2 separate regions of the Homo sapiens genome follow, and region 2 is linked to region 1. Evidence: promoter capture Hi-C in human tissues and cell types (Jung and others, 2019). All regions are on one chromosome and are shown on one strand. Each heading gives the region's core, a stretch centred on a gene start or on the middle of the fragment in contact. The rest is flanking DNA. Distances are from core to core; before and after follow the strand shown. Region 1 holds the start of GPR4 (G protein-coupled receptor 4). Region 2 overlaps FBXO46 (F-box protein 46).

Region 1 (7,330 bases), core at 740-3,239:
TGTATTGAGCTGAGATCATGTCCCTGCACTCCAGCCTGGGCACAGCAAGACTCTGTCTCAAAAAAAAAAAAAAAAATCAAACCTGACAGCTATCATTTTTTAGTGTTATATGCCACATCTATCTGAAGTCCCTTGACCAATAATGAATTCTCATGATTAGTTTATGAAAGATGTGATGTTAATAATAAAAATAAGCTAATGTTTTAGGAGCACTTATCATTCATTTGTTCACTCCCTGAAAACAATGTTTTTTGTTTTTTGTTTTGAGATGGAGTCTTGCTCTGTCACCCAGGCTGGAGTGCAGTGGCGCGGTCTTGGCTCACTGCAAGCTCCGCCTCCCGGGTTCATGCCGTTCTCCTGCCTCAGCCTCCTGATTAGCTGGGACAACAGGCGCCCACCATCACATCTGGCTAATTTTTTTGTATTTTTAGTAGAGATGGGGTTTCACTGTGTTAGCCAGGATGGTCTCCATCTCCTGACCTCGTGATCCGCCTGCCTCAGCCTCCCAAAGTGCTGGGATTACAGGCGTGAGCCACCACGCTCGGCCAGAAAACAATGTGTTTCACACCTATCACCTGCCCAGCAGTCTTCTAGGCAACAGACATGCAACAGTAAACAAGCCAGACACAAAAATGACACTCTTCCTAGTAGGAAGGCAGACAACTAGAAAAAAATAAGAGAATGTTGCCTTCCCCAAAGGGTAGGGGAAAAGTGAGGCAGAGAAAGATGGGGAGTGTTGGGGTCTGGTTGGCATATTTTACAGACTTGATAGCATTGACACCATTAAATGAGACCGCCAGGAGAAAAGGACCATGATGGCCGGCCTCGGTGGCTCAGGCTTATAATCCCAGCACTTTGGGAGGCCAAAGCAGAAGGATGGCTTGAGCCCAGGAGTTTGAGACCAGCCTAGACAACATAGTGAGACCCCTGTCTATAGAAAAAAAAAATTTTTTAAATTGGCCAGGTGTGGTGGCACACGCCTGTAGTCCCAGCAACTCAGGAGGCTGAGGTGGGAGGATCACTTGAGCCTGGAAGGTTGAGGCCGCAGGGAGCCATGATCGTGCCACTGAACTCCAGACTGGGCAAGAGAGTGAAAACCTGTCTCAAAAAAAGAAAAAAGGTGGGGCACGGTGGCTCACGCCTGTAATCCCAACACTTTTTGGAGGCCGAGGTGGGCAGATAGCTGGAGCTTAGGAGTTCGAGACCAGCCTGGCCAACTTGGTGAAACCCCGTCTCTATTAAAAATACAAAAATTAGCCGGGCGTGGTGGTGTGTGCCTGTAATCCCAGCTACTCGGGAGGCTGAGGCAGGAGAATCGCTTGAACCTGGAAGGCAGAGATTGCAGTGAGCCAAGATTGTGCCACTGCACTCCAGTCTGGGCAACAGAGCATGACTCTGTCTCGAAAGAAAAGAAAGAAAAAAGCAAAGCAAAGCAAAGCAAAGAAAAGAAGGAAGCAAGCAGGCACCATGAGTGACCACCTTGATTCAAAGAGGAAACTGAGGCACGGAGATGTCACTAGCCTAAGGTCTGACCAAGAGTCAGGCTGGAAATGCAACCCCAGAGCTCCTTCTAGGGGTGGCCCTGACTTTGGAGTTGGGGACCTAACAGAACCCTTTATTCTCTCCGTTGTTGGGGAGGAAGATGCAGAAGGTTAATGACCAGAGGATGAATGACTGAAGCCTGGGGTCTCTAAGGGAGGAAATGGCTTAACCCAGGGAAGGTCAGTAGCGGGGGCCTCCTCTTCCCATAGCCGAGGACCTGATAAATTTGGGGGTGTGTGGTTGGAGAGAGGGGACCTTCCAGCTGGGGACTTGGAAGGATTCGGGGGTGTTCCAGTAGCAGATGAGCCTCACCCGTGGCTGGAGGCGTTTAATGGGGTGAAGCCTGAAAGGGGTTAAGGGGCAGCGGCAAAGGTGGGGTTAATGGGGGCGGGCCTGGCCGGGGCGGGGCCTCGGCTGGCGGCTCTGGCCCGGGGGCCGGGAGGAGTAGCCGCTGTTCTGCCCCGCGGGGGCATCCGCTGGGTCCCCGCGCCGTTGTCAAGACCGGGGACCTGGACGCAGCGGAGAGAGGTGCCGCCGCCCGCCCCGTCCAGTCGCCGCGCGCAGGTAAGTGCCGGGTCCTCCCCGGCTGCCCGCGATGCTGCGGGGTCTCACTAGGTTGCCCTGCTCGTGGCGAGACCGCTCCTCCCCGCCCCCTCGGGGGCTGCCTCAGTCTCCCGCGCCGTCTCGGTGCCCGCCCCCTCTGTTGCTCTCCCTGGCTTTGCGTCTGTCTCCAACTCCCGCCTGATGTCTCTGTGTCTGTGGTCCCTCTGCCTCTGGACGTGTCTTTCCTTCTGTGTCTCTGGATGTCTCTGTCTTTTTCTTGATCTCTGCCTCTCTGTCTCCGTCTGTCTGTCTCTGTCTCTCTGTTTCTGGGTCCCACCTCCCTCTGCCCCTGCCTCTGCCTCACCCCCGTCTGTTGTGGGACCTCTGCGGATGTCTCTGACTCTATCTCCATCTCTCCCTGTCTCTGTGTATCTCTTTGCTCTCTCCCTTCCTGTCTCTTCATCTCTATTGCCCTGTCTCTTTCTCTCCGTCTCTTATAACACTGTTTTGGCACCTTCAGCTCTGTCTTCTCTCCTTCCAAATCCTCCGCATCCCGGAACTTTCCTCTGGGCTGGGAACCTGCTTGGGAGTGGGGTAGGGGGCAGGAGGCTTGTGACCTGGGGCAGGCGGACTCTAAGTGACACCATGATCCCAGCGCCCCCTTCACGGAGCCACCCCACTGCCCCTCAGGTCGCACCCAGCCCGCCCGCCAATTTCAGGAATTCCTGCCTGGGGGGTGGACTTCCTCCCCTACTTCCTCTCTTCCAGGATTTGGCTGGGTCACCATTAACTCTTTCCTGCTTCCGCCTCACTCTCCCCCCTGGAACTGGACAACCCCTCCTCCCAAACTAGGCTGAGGAATAGCTCTAGGATATCTGTGAGGCATCGGTTGTGGGATGTGTGTGTGTGCGTACTCAGGCTGGATATGCATTGGGGAATTTGTTTGGCGCAGAAGTGGAGAGGATGGGGCCACACCCCCCAGTTCCCCCTCCAGAGCCCACCATCAGCCCCCCTCCTCCTGAGCCCACCAAGGGGGTATCCGCCCCCACCTCTGTCTTTGTAGATGAACTTGACTTCAGGTTTGGGGTGAGGATGAGGAGGTTTTCTTTTCTGGGGGAATCCCAGCTGAAGAGGATGAAAGACCCATAGGGGCTCCTGGAACCCTGGGAATCCTATGATCAAGTACCTTGAATGTGAACATCTTTGAATGGAAGGGCCCAGATGGAAGAAGCATTGGAGGGGAGGCCTGGGAATTCCAGATCTTTCCAATCAAAGGTCCTGGGGATACTGGAGTCCTTCAATCCAAAAAGAGGAGTGTTGAAATCTTGGCACGTTTCAGTGATGGCAGCTGAGAGCTGGAAAGGGTTTGCGGAGCCACCTAGGCCAACTCCCCCTGCCCCCATTTTATAGATGGAGAAACTGAGGTCCAAAAGCAGAAGTCCCCACAGTGAGTCAGTGCCAGGCTGGAGGGTTGGGACCCCAGTTTTCAACTGAAGCCCAAATCCACAGAGCTGGCTTCTTCTGCTACCACTAAGTCGGATTAATTTGGGGAAAGAGGTCTTCTCAATGAGGAGGGAGAGATGCCAGGGTGAGTAGAAATGGCTGGAATCCAGAAGGGAGGGTTTTAGAAGCAGAGGAGAGAAAATATTTCCAAAACCATGGTGGTGGGGAGGGAGAGGGGCAATAGTTGGTTTGGGTGGAAGGGGTGGAGTTTCGGGAAGAGAGGGAGGGAGGTGGAGGGGAACCGGGATTAACTCCAGCTTCAGTCTCCTGACCCTCCGCCTGGAGCCCACCGTTCCCTCGGGGACAGGGCCTATAATTTGGTTTGTGTCTAGACAAATAATAACTCAGCTGGTGTGAGCGGGGAGGGCTGAGGCTAGGCCCACTAGCGAAAGGGTAGAGAGGCGGCCTGGATATAGCATGTCACCCCCAGGTGGTGAGAATTTAGGGGCCAGGTGGAGGTGGTGACTAACACGCCCCTCTCTTCCCTCCATGAAGCCATAATTTCTTAGAATTCTGCACAATCTTAGAAATCAGGCTGCTGGAATGTTCAAAAGCAGGCGAGAGAAGGGGGGAAAGAAAAGGAAGTGGGGCTCACCGTATTTAGTGTATGTTCCCATTTCTGTAAAAGAGAAAAGGGAAATACATATTCCTGTTTGCTGGGGAAAGATAAAAATCACTGAGCGTTTAATAATAGATTATGAAAGTCATAGAATGCTTAAAAAAATCATAGCGTGTTCTAACAATAGAACTTTCGAATCTTGGAATGTGACACTCCTAGAATATTGGAAACTTAGGGTAGGTACTTACAAAGCCACGATGTAATAAATAGAATGAAAGAAGAGTAACGCTCTAGAATGTTATAATAGAACATTCAACTGCGAAGTGAACTAAGGATAGAACCTGAAGACTGCAGAACCATAGAGACCTAGAACGTCAGAGAGGCCATCTAAGGACTGGTATCCCTAGTAGGCAGTGTGGGCTTTGGGGGCACAGAGACCCTCTCGGTTGAAACAGGGATACTGAGGTGCAGTGGGGCCGTTAGGGTAGCCCGATTGCCCCCTGGTTTCCGCCGGCCGCCAGGGCACCAGGTGGGGAGCGAGGACCAGTGATCACATTTCGTCCCTAATGAGCAGACCGGAGCTGGCTGGTCCCTTGGGGCTGCAGGGAGAAGGCGGGGAGGGGGGGGTGGTGGGAGCAGGAGCCCACAGAGGAGGAAAAGGGGGAGGTGAGATAGCCTGGTGGCATCGGGGACAAGGCTGGTGAGTGAGCCCAGGGGTGCTGGGGGATGCGGGGGGCTGTAGCACTTCTCCCTCTTGTCCTCAAAATCCTCCAAGTTTTTCAGCTTTGCTGGATTTTGGGGTGGCTGGCAGGATGCGGCAGCCGAGGCTGCTAAAGTTGGGGGGGCCAGGTCTTCCTAGTCTTTCCTGTCCCCCCACCATCTCTCCATCCTTGGGTATATTTCTCTTCCCCCCGACTCTCTGGAAGGGGCCAGCAGGGACCCAAGAAGTGGGGGCCTGTGGGACAGACAGGGGGAGCTTCTTGTGGATGTGAGATTTGGGGGTTTACCCCCTCAACAGAGCCTAAGGGGCAGAACTTAGATCCCAACCAGAGAGGGTCCTGGAAGGGGAACGGGGTTATGGGGATCAGGTGATGGAAGGTCGCTTGCTTTCTTTGTGGGGAGAAGGTCGTATCTTCTAGTAGGTTCTCAGAGGGGCCAGAGACGCTCAGAAAGACTTGAGAAAAATTACAGAAGTTCAGAGAGTGAAGAGAAAAACCTCAGGGGAAGGGAAGCTGTTTAGTTAACAGCGACAGGAGGTTTGCCCAGTCTTGAGACATCAAGTGACTTAGACAACTGCCTTGCTGCTGCGGGCCTCGGTTTCCCCATCTGTACCAGGAAGGGGTCAGAAATAGCCTCACACTCCCAGCTGCCACACATACGTCGGCTGCACTGTGGCGTTCTAAGAGTCTGACGTTCCATGCTGACTTTTGGGGTTTCCACGTTGGGCAGATCTCACGTGGGGAAGAAGAGAGGGCTGTCTGGGCACCCCTCCCCCCCATGTCCAGCATCCGCAAGATGCCAGCAGGTTGGGGAGGAGGGGTGGGAGGGAGGAGGGGTGAGAGCTGGACCGGTTCCCCCTTGAGGAAATTAGCAATGGGAAGTGTATTTCCTCCTCTGGCTGCCGGAAGTGTCTCCTGCCCGGGTACCCGAGTTAGGTCAGCAGAGCCCTGGGGGTCGATAGAAAGTGGGGCAAAGGGGACTTCTAGCCCTCGGTGGGTGTCTCCTGCCATGAAGAACCGGTTTATTTCTTGTCTCAGCCCCCTAGTCCCCGTGGAATAATAATAATCGTTCAAATACTGCATGTTACGGAGCTGATATCGCATTCTAGCAAGGACGTTCCGGTCTGTGATGTGATGACTATAAAGCCTGTGCCCCCTTTTACAGAAGGGAGAAACTGAGGCTCCTGGAGACCTAATTCTCTAAATGTCACAGGAGGAAGGGAGAGACTAGGGGCAGAGAGATGGGGAGAGAGAGGGCAGAGGAGAGGGGAGGGAGGTTATTTTGAGTGACTTGGTCTGGGTGGGAGGTTTCAAGTGGAAGGGAGGGACTGGATCACACTGTTCCAGCCTGGAGTACGCCCCCACCCATCCCATCTCCACAGGACCCACAAGCTTCTGCCCAAGAGTCTGGGGTGGGGGAGGCAGCTCTGCCGCTGAGGACCCCACAGGGGGCAGGACTTACTGAGCACGACTCAGCCCTGACCTTTCAAAGTCAATTAAGAAGCGGATAGATCTTGCCCTTTCCAGCTCTCCCCTGACCACCTCTTCCCCTGGGAATGGACTCCTCTCCCTCCCTTCCCCCTCCTCCCCATGCCCTTGTTTGAGCCTGGGGTGGGGTGGGGCAGCCTCATGGGCAGAGAGTATGTTTTTACTCCATGCCTCTGGCCTCTGCAAAGCTTCTGGAATGGTTTTTGCCATTGGCAAATGGCTCTGTGCTCCCTGACCATGACCTTGGTAATTTATTGAGCACCTACTGTATGCTGGGCCTGTCCTGGATGCTGGGGATACAGCAGTCAACAAGGCACACAAAGTCTCTGCCCTCCTGGACAACCTATTCTAGGCAGACAGACACAAACAAAACAGGGTGATGTGAGGAGAGGGTCCTGGGGCAGGGGAGAGTCGGGGACTGAATGGAGAGGGACTCCCGAGGAAGTGAAGGAGGGAACGGAGCTACTCAGACTATCTGAAGGAAGAGCAGTGGCTCACATCTGTAATCCCAGCACTTTGAGAGGCCAAGGTGGGTGGATCACTGGAGAACAGGAGTTCGAGACCAACCTGGCCAACATGGTAAAACCCCATCTCTACTAAAAATACAAAAATTAGCTGGGCATGGTGGTGCACACCTGTAATCCCAACTACTCAGGAAGCCAAGGCAGGAGACTCACTTGAACCCAGGTGGCGGAGGTTTCAGTGAGCCGAGATCGTGCCACTGCACTCCAGCCTGGGCGACAGAGTAAGATTCTGTCTCCAAAAAAAAAAAAGAGCATTCCAGACTGAGAGTATGGTAAGTGTGCAAAGGTTTGAGGCTGGAAAGAAGGTCACTCACTGGCCTTGAGACTGCTGAGGCAGGAAGGAGAGGTGAGTGAGATTGGCTAGGCTGCCCCAGCAGGTCAGACAGAACCTTGTGACTCCGGATGAGGAGTCTGGATTTTACCGCAAGTCCATTCAGAAGCCATTGGAGGGT
Region 2 (7,249 bases), core at 4,282-6,781, 110 kb before region 1:
ATGGGTGAGGTATGGATGAGTCAGGATTCTGGACAAAGGAGCAGCAGGGTAGGGCATAGAAGGAACAGGGACCGGGCGCGGTGCATCATGCCTGTAATCCCAGCACTACGGGAAGTGGGTGGATCATCTGAGATCAGGAGTTCAAGACCAGCCTGGCCAACATGGTGAAACCCTGTCTCTACTAAAAATACGAAAATTAGCCGGGCATGGTGGCAGGTGCCTATAATCCCAGCTACTCAGGAGGCTGAGGCAGGGGAGGTGGAGGTTACAGTGAGACGAGATCGTGTTACTGCACTCCAGCTTGGGCAACAGCACGACTCCATCTCAAAAAAAGAAAAAAAAAGGGTGGGGTGGTGCCGGGCGTGGTGGCTCACGCCTATAATCCCAGCACTTTGGGTGGATCACGAGGTCAGGAGACCGAGACCATCCTGGCTAACATGGTGAAACTCTACTAAAAATATAAATAATTAGCCGGGTGTGGTGGCGGGCGCCTGTAGTCCCAGCTACTTGGGAGGCTGAGGCAGGAGAATTGCTTGAACCCACGAGGCAGAGGTTCGAGTGAGCCGAGATCGTGCCACTGCACTCCAGCCTGGGTGACAGAACAAGACCCTGTCAAAAAAAAAAAAAAAAAAAGGAACAGGACCAGGAACGAAACCCTGGTGTCCTGCCACCAATTCCCATGTAACTGGGCAAGTGCCTTGTGCTGGGTGTGACCCTGGCCCTGTGATGGGGAGCGGGGTCATCTGACTAGGGGTGGGGATGGGGAAGTGGGGTGGGGTCAGACATCTACGCTTTACCATTTATCATTATTTTTCCATTCTTTCTTTCTGTTTTGGTGTTTTTGAGCCAGGGTCTCGCTTTGGCACCCAGGCTGGAGTGCAGTGGCAAAATCTCAGCTCACTGCACCCTCCACTTCCGGGCTCAAGCGATCCTCCCACTTCAGCCTCCCGAGTAGCTGTGACTGCAGGCACATGCTGGCTAATTTTTGTATTTTTAGTAGAGACGGGGTTTTGCCATGTTGCCCAGGCTGGTCTCAAATTCATTGGCTTAAGCGATCTGTCTGCCTCGGCTTCCCAAAGTGCTGGGATTACAGGCGCGAGCCACCACACGTGGCCTATTTTTCCTTATTTGTTTGGTTTATTCTGTTGTTTTTTTCCCCGCTTCACTTCTTTTTTTTTTTTTTTTTGGCTGAGAGTCTTGCTCTGTCACCCAGGCTGGAGTGCAGTGGTGCAATCTCGGCTCATTGCAGCCACGCCTCCTGGGTTCAAGCAATTCTCCGATTCTCCTGTCTCAAGCTCCTGAGTAGCTGGGATTACAGGAGCCTGCCACCACATTACAGGTGTGAGCCACTGCGCCCAGCCAGGATGATGTTTATATTGTAGTTTAGACCTTGAGCTCTGGAGTCAGCTGATCTTTGATTCTAAGTTCTGACTTGGTGTGGTTGCTCCTGCCTGTAGTCCCAGCACTTGGGGAGGCCAAGGTGGAGGATTGCTTGAGTTCAAGAGTTCAAGACTGGCCTAGGCAACATAGTGAGACCTCATCAGTACAAAAAAATGTAAAAATTAGCTGGGCGTGCTGGTATACACCTGTGGTTTCAGCTCCTCAAAAGGCTGGGATAGGCTGGGCACAGTGGCTCACACCTGTAATCCTAGCACTTTGGGAGGCTGAGGCGGGTGGATCACTTGAGGTAAGGAGTTCAAGACCAGCCTGATCAACATGGTGAAACCCTGTCTCTACTAAAAATACAAATATTAGGCCAGGTGCAGTGGCTCACGCCTGTAATCTCAACACTTTGGGAGGCCAAGGTGGGGTGGATCACCTGAGGTCAGGAGTTCGAGACCAGTCTGGCCAACATGGTGAAACTCCATCTCTACTAAAAATGAAAAAATTATCTGGACATGGTGGCGCACACCTGTAGTCCCAGCTACTTGGGAGGCTTAGGCAAGCAAATCGCTTGAACCGGGAGGCAGAGGTTGCAGTGATTGCAGTGAGCCGAGATCGCACCGTTACACTCCAGCCTGGGCAACAGAGCAAGACTCCGTCTTAAAAAAAAAAACAAAAAAGAAGGCAGCTGAGATGGGAGGATCACTTGAGCCCAGGAGATTGAGGCTGCGTTGAGGCGAGATTGCACTCCAGCCTGGGTGACAGTGAGACCATCTCAGAAAACAACAAAAAACAAAACACACACTCACAAAAACAGAGTTCTGCTACAAAGCTATAAATGAGGGCAATTACTTAGCCATTCTCTGCCTCAGTTTCCTTATCTTCAACACGAAATTAAAAATAGGAGATAGAAGAATCAAACAAGTTCATATTTGTAGAGTGCTCGAGTATTGACTGCTGTTGTGATTATCATTTTCTAATATATTCATGTTGGTTCTGACTGTTTGTTTGGATGTCTGACCCCTTTCCCATGAGCCATTCCTGGGGAGCTCAGTGTCACCTGTGTGTTCCAGCGCCCAACAATGGCCAGCATGCAGGACCACAGTGAATGTCAGAGACAAGTTTTTGCAAATGCACCATGTATGTATGTATGCTAGGGATGTAAATATGTGGATTATTTAATTGTTGGGGGCATTCAACCAAGGGTGTAGATTGAGTGGTTCAGGTCCTTACTAATTTTCCCAAGCAGTCTTTTCTTAGAAATATGTTGTTTTCCCATATCAATTGTGGATTTAACAAACTTTCCCTTGTCATTTGTAAGTTTATGGCTGTCATGTGTAGAGATGGTCGTTTTTTGCTTTATCTATTTGGAAGCCATAGTATTTGGATCATGTATGTTGAGAACTTTTGTGTATAATGGGTCACTTCCACCTCCCTCCCCCAGCCCTAGGGACTCATGTAGAGAAGTAAATAATTGGTCATTTTGTTTCGTCATCATCCATTGCTTTTGTCAGTTTATTTATTTTTTATTTATTTAATTTATTTTTAATTTAATTTAAGACAGTCTCGTGCTGTCACCCAGAGTGGAGTGCAGTGGCCTGATCTGAGCTCACTGCAGCCTCTACCTCCTGGGCTCAAGCAATCCTCCCACCTCAGCCTCCTGAGTACTTGGGACTACAGGCACGTGCCACCACACCCTGCTAATTTGTGTATTTTTTGTAGTGATGGGGTTTCACCATGTTGCCCAGGCTGGTCGCAGACTCCTGAGCTCAAGGGATTGTGTCCCCCCTCTGCCTCCCAAAGTGCTGGGATTACAGGTGTGAGCCACCGTGCCTGGCCAAGTTTTTTTTTTTTTTTTTTTAAGGGGTAATGTTACTCCTCTACTTGTCTCTTGGTTCGTGTTTTCCCAGCCAGTTTTTTGCCGTCTTTTGATTTTCCATATTTTTGGTTCACAATGTTTTACAATGAATAGATTTTCATGGAGTAGTTGCTGAAGGCTGACCTAGTGTAGGGCCTTATGCTGGGCTCAGTGTGGGGGAGTTAGAAGATCCTGTCTCAGGCCTGGAGAGAGACCCACCCCAGACGATGACCCAGAGTAGGCAGGGAAGAGGGAACCCAGAGGTCCCCTCTGGGCAGGTGGGTGATTTCCAGGAAGGGAGTTGGAGAAGGCCTCTCTAATAAAACTGCATTTGAACACAGACCTGAATGAAGTAAGGAATTGAGCCTTGCAGAGGGGGAATGTATTGCAGTTGGTGGGAACAGCAAATGCAGAGACCAGGGAAGGCAAGAGCCCGGTAACTTTGAGGAATAGACAGCAATGAGCCCACCGCATGGACGCCCTGGGTGAAGCCTGACCTGGCCTAGGGGGATTGGGGGTGTCAGCTTCTTAGAGGAGGGGTGGTCGAGCTGAAACCCCAGGGAATATATAGTGAAACAGTAGGGCACAGTGACTAGGAAATCAGATTCCCTGGCTTCATATCCCTGCTCCAGCTCACACTCCAGCTCTGTGTGACCTTGTGGTCAGGAGACCTGCCCTGCGTCAGTTTCTTCATCCATACCGTGGAGACGATCACTCCTACCGGGGATCAGATGGGTCCTGAGTATTCTATGTATGCCAGATCAGGTGCCCACCAGGGTGCACTGGGGTATTGCCTGCGGGGCGGAGGAGTGGGGAGGGATGCGACTGGACAGGTGGGGTACCTGGGTGTTTTCCAGAGGGCACTGGGGAGCCATGGCAGGTTCTCACCAGGATAGGGACGGGTTCAGGTTTATAGGACTGTGCTTTAACAGGACTTTTCTGGCTGCTCTTTTGTACTAAGTGAGGCAGGTTTGGGGCGCCTGTTTGGAAAGGCTGAACTGGCAGCTCCGAATGGCTACACGGCTTGAGCCTTGAACGCCAGGCCTAGAGGCTTGTTTTCAGTTGCCGTGGGAACCTTCGTAGGGTTCTGTCCATTTGTTTTTCAGGGTGGGGTTATCCCGATGCCCAATTCCCCCCGCGGAAATCCTCAGCCCGCCCCCCGCCCCCACAGTTCCCAACCAAAGCTGGATACTCTGATCTCTCCGCCTGCTTCCTTCCGCCTTGGTGTTCTTAATCCCCGGGCTGCCTGGCCCTTTAAGTCTCAAGCGTCAATCAGGGCTTCTGTTCGAGGGGACGTGGTGTAATAAGCCTCCCCTGGAGTGTCGTGGCCTTTGCCCTGACCTTGTTCCGTTTAGCTGGACGTTGGGAGTTGTTCCACGCTCCCTTGCATCCGGCTGTGTCTACCCCACCACCCACTCCCATCACCTCTCGCCTACTCCTCCCTATTTCGAAGTTGGGCCCCTTCGCCAAGGCCTGCCTTATATGGGCACGGCCCCGAATGGCGGCCGCTCATTGGCTGAGAGCGTCACGCGCGCGTCTGTCAACAAAAGGGCGGAGGGAAGCTAGTTGCTAGTCTGCCCGCGCGGTGGCCGGAGGGAAGGAGCGAGGGGGCGGGCCCTTTTACCTTTCGCGCGCATGCGTGTGGGCTGCAGCCTTCTCCCGCCGCCTGGGGGGGCTGCGGGTGAGGGCTCTTTGGGGGCGTGTGTAGGTTTCGAGGGTCACCTGAGGGGTTTGGAAGATTTCTTTGGGGGGGCGGTTACAAGATTTGGGGGTTCCTTTTCCATTTGCAAAATGTTCTGGGGCTTGGGGAAGTTTTAACGTGGGTTTAGGGGATACTTTTGGGGTTCTCTCGCGCTTAAGGGGCACCTTGGAGTTTGGGTTCGTTTGTAATGCGGAAGGTTCGGTTGTGTTTTCGGGATCGGGTTCCCTTTGTGTTTTGGAGTGTTTGTTGGGCATAGAATTTGGGGAGCTCCCGGAGAGACAGAAGCAAAGAGCCCGAGAGTACCAGTCCTGGAGGTGGAATGTCTGGGCTCGCGTCTTGACTTCCTACCTGTCTTAACCCGGACAGGAGATTTCACCTGTGTCTCATCGGGAACTAGGCATTAATAACACTACCTGCTTCCTAGGGACCGAGGAGGATTAGGAATTGTTAGCGCAGTACCTACCTAGTAAGCTCGCAGCGAGCGTGCAGTAAGCACATGTCTGCTATTGTAACATTTGTGAGGTTTCTTTGTTTTTTTTTTTTGGCTTTGTGAAACATTTTTATGGTTTAAGATTCATCTTAAAGTGTTAGGGAGCTTTTGTGTTTTCAAAGAGTTCGTCTGCTGTTGGAGGCTTCTAGTGGAATTGGGAGATAATGGAGGAGGGTTGGGGGGAGTATAGGATTCCGGGAGAGTGATTGTTTATGACATAGTTTGGGGAATTGCTGTGTTGGGATCTGTGAGAGATTGACTGAGATTCGGCCCTTCAGTGCTGGAGAGGATATTTTTAGGTTCGGTGGTTTAAAGTAGTATTTGAAAGCTTTTCGATATTTGGGGGAGGACATTGAGATGCTGGGGGTAAGGTTGGAACTGATTAGGGGACTTGAGGGGGTGGCCAGGTTGTAGCAGGATGGCATCTGTAGAGACTGGCTTTTGCTGTGTTAGCCTGCCTCCCTGGGCAGTTGGTTATACAGGTCAAGTATCCCTTACCCGAAAATCTTGGGACTAAAAAGTGTTTCGGATTTTGGATTTCTTCGGATTTTGAGTATTTGCATTATACTTATCAGTTGAGTATGCCAAGTCTGAAAAATCTGAAATGCTCTAATGAGCATATCCTATCAGTGTCATCTTGGCACTCAAAAAGTTCTGAATTTGGGAGCATTTTGGATTTTCAGATTTGAGATACTCAACATGTATGTGAATTGGTGGTTGGTAAACAGCCATCTATAGGTTTTGGAGGCTGTGGAGTGATATTTTTAACACTGAGCTGAGATTACAGCAGGGACTGTAAGTATTTGAGGGGTAGGTGGGATTGGGGATTATGGAGTGGAGATAAAGATTCTTGACATGGGGATTCTCTGTGTTTACTGGTACCTGTGAGTGCTTGGAGGCTGTCTGGATTTTGTTTTGTTTTCTTTCTTTTTTTTTTTTTTTTTTTTGAGATGGAGTTTAGCTCTTGTCGCCCAGGCTGGAGTGCAGTGGCAAGATCTCAGTTCACTGCAACCTCCGCCTCCCGGTTCAAGCTATTCTCCTGCCTCAGCCTCCTGAGTAGATGGGACTACAGGCGCGCACCACCACGCCTGGCTAATTTTTGTATTTTTAGTAGAGACGGGGTTTTGCCATGTTAGCCAGGCTGATCTCGAATTCCTGACATCAGATGATCCGCCTGCCTCGGCCTCCCAAAGTGCTGGGATTACAGGTGTGAGCCACTGTGCCAGGCCTGGAATTGTTTGAATTTAGAGGGATGGTCTGTACTGCAGGAGTTGGCAAACTTTTTCCATAAAGAGCCAGATAATGGGTATTTTAAGCTTTGCAGGCCATGTGGTCTTTGTTCTGCTATTCAGCTCTGCTGTTGAAGATGAAAGCATCCATAAACAAATGAGCATGTTTCAATAAAACTTTATTTACAAAGACAGCGAGCTGGATTAGGCTTCTGGGCCATAGTTTGCTGACCTCTCTGGCCTGTAGGCATGTGGAAGTTTCAAGGTTTAAAGGGTCATTTTGGTTTTGAGCTGTCTGGAGGGAGATGAGCCAGAGAAAGATTGAGGCATATGTTACTTAGTAGGTTCAAACTGCAGTGAAAGTGATCATGTCGGACTCATGCGCAAGATTGCCTCCAGATTAGGTCATTCACATCAAGTCATTCCAAAATAAAATAGTCATTAACAGAGCCCTAAATTGAAGAGTCCAGAAATCAAGTTGAGAGCCTCTTTTTGCTCCGGACCCACTGTAATCTTAGCTATGTCACCCTTCCCCACTCTGAGCCTCTGTTTATCTGTGTGCAGCTTGAGGAGAAAGCTAGGCTAGA

Evidence for each region. The method cuts DNA at HindIII sites, captures the fragments that hold promoters and counts their contacts. A contact is called where the count stands out against the background at its distance.
Region 2: a contact is called between a fragment that was not itself captured here and the fragment with the promoter of GPR4 in region 1, in 4 of the 25 tissues and cell types used here (dorsolateral prefrontal cortex, heart left ventricle, mesenchymal stem cells and 1 more).

What each region holds. Positions count from the first base shown.
Region 1 is chr19:45,596,871-45,604,200 of GRCh38, reverse strand. It overlaps GPR4 (G protein-coupled receptor 4), which reads left to right and starts at 1,989. Exons shown (of 2, transcript NM_005282.3): 1 at 1,989-2,106. RefSeq lists enhancers at 5,551-6,187, 6,188-6,825. The HindIII fragment of the contact is 53,447 bases long and covers 1-7,330 here.
Region 2 is chr19:45,714,938-45,722,186 of GRCh38, reverse strand. All of the region lies in intron 1 of FBXO46 (F-box protein 46), which reads left to right. Among named protein-coding and RNA genes, the nearest start is that of FBXO46, 12 kb to the left of the region's middle. RefSeq lists silencers at 1-116, 1-156 and enhancers at 1,037-1,537, 4,398-4,447, 3,890-4,560, 4,561-5,231. The HindIII fragment of the contact is 7,183 bases long and covers 1,940-7,249 here.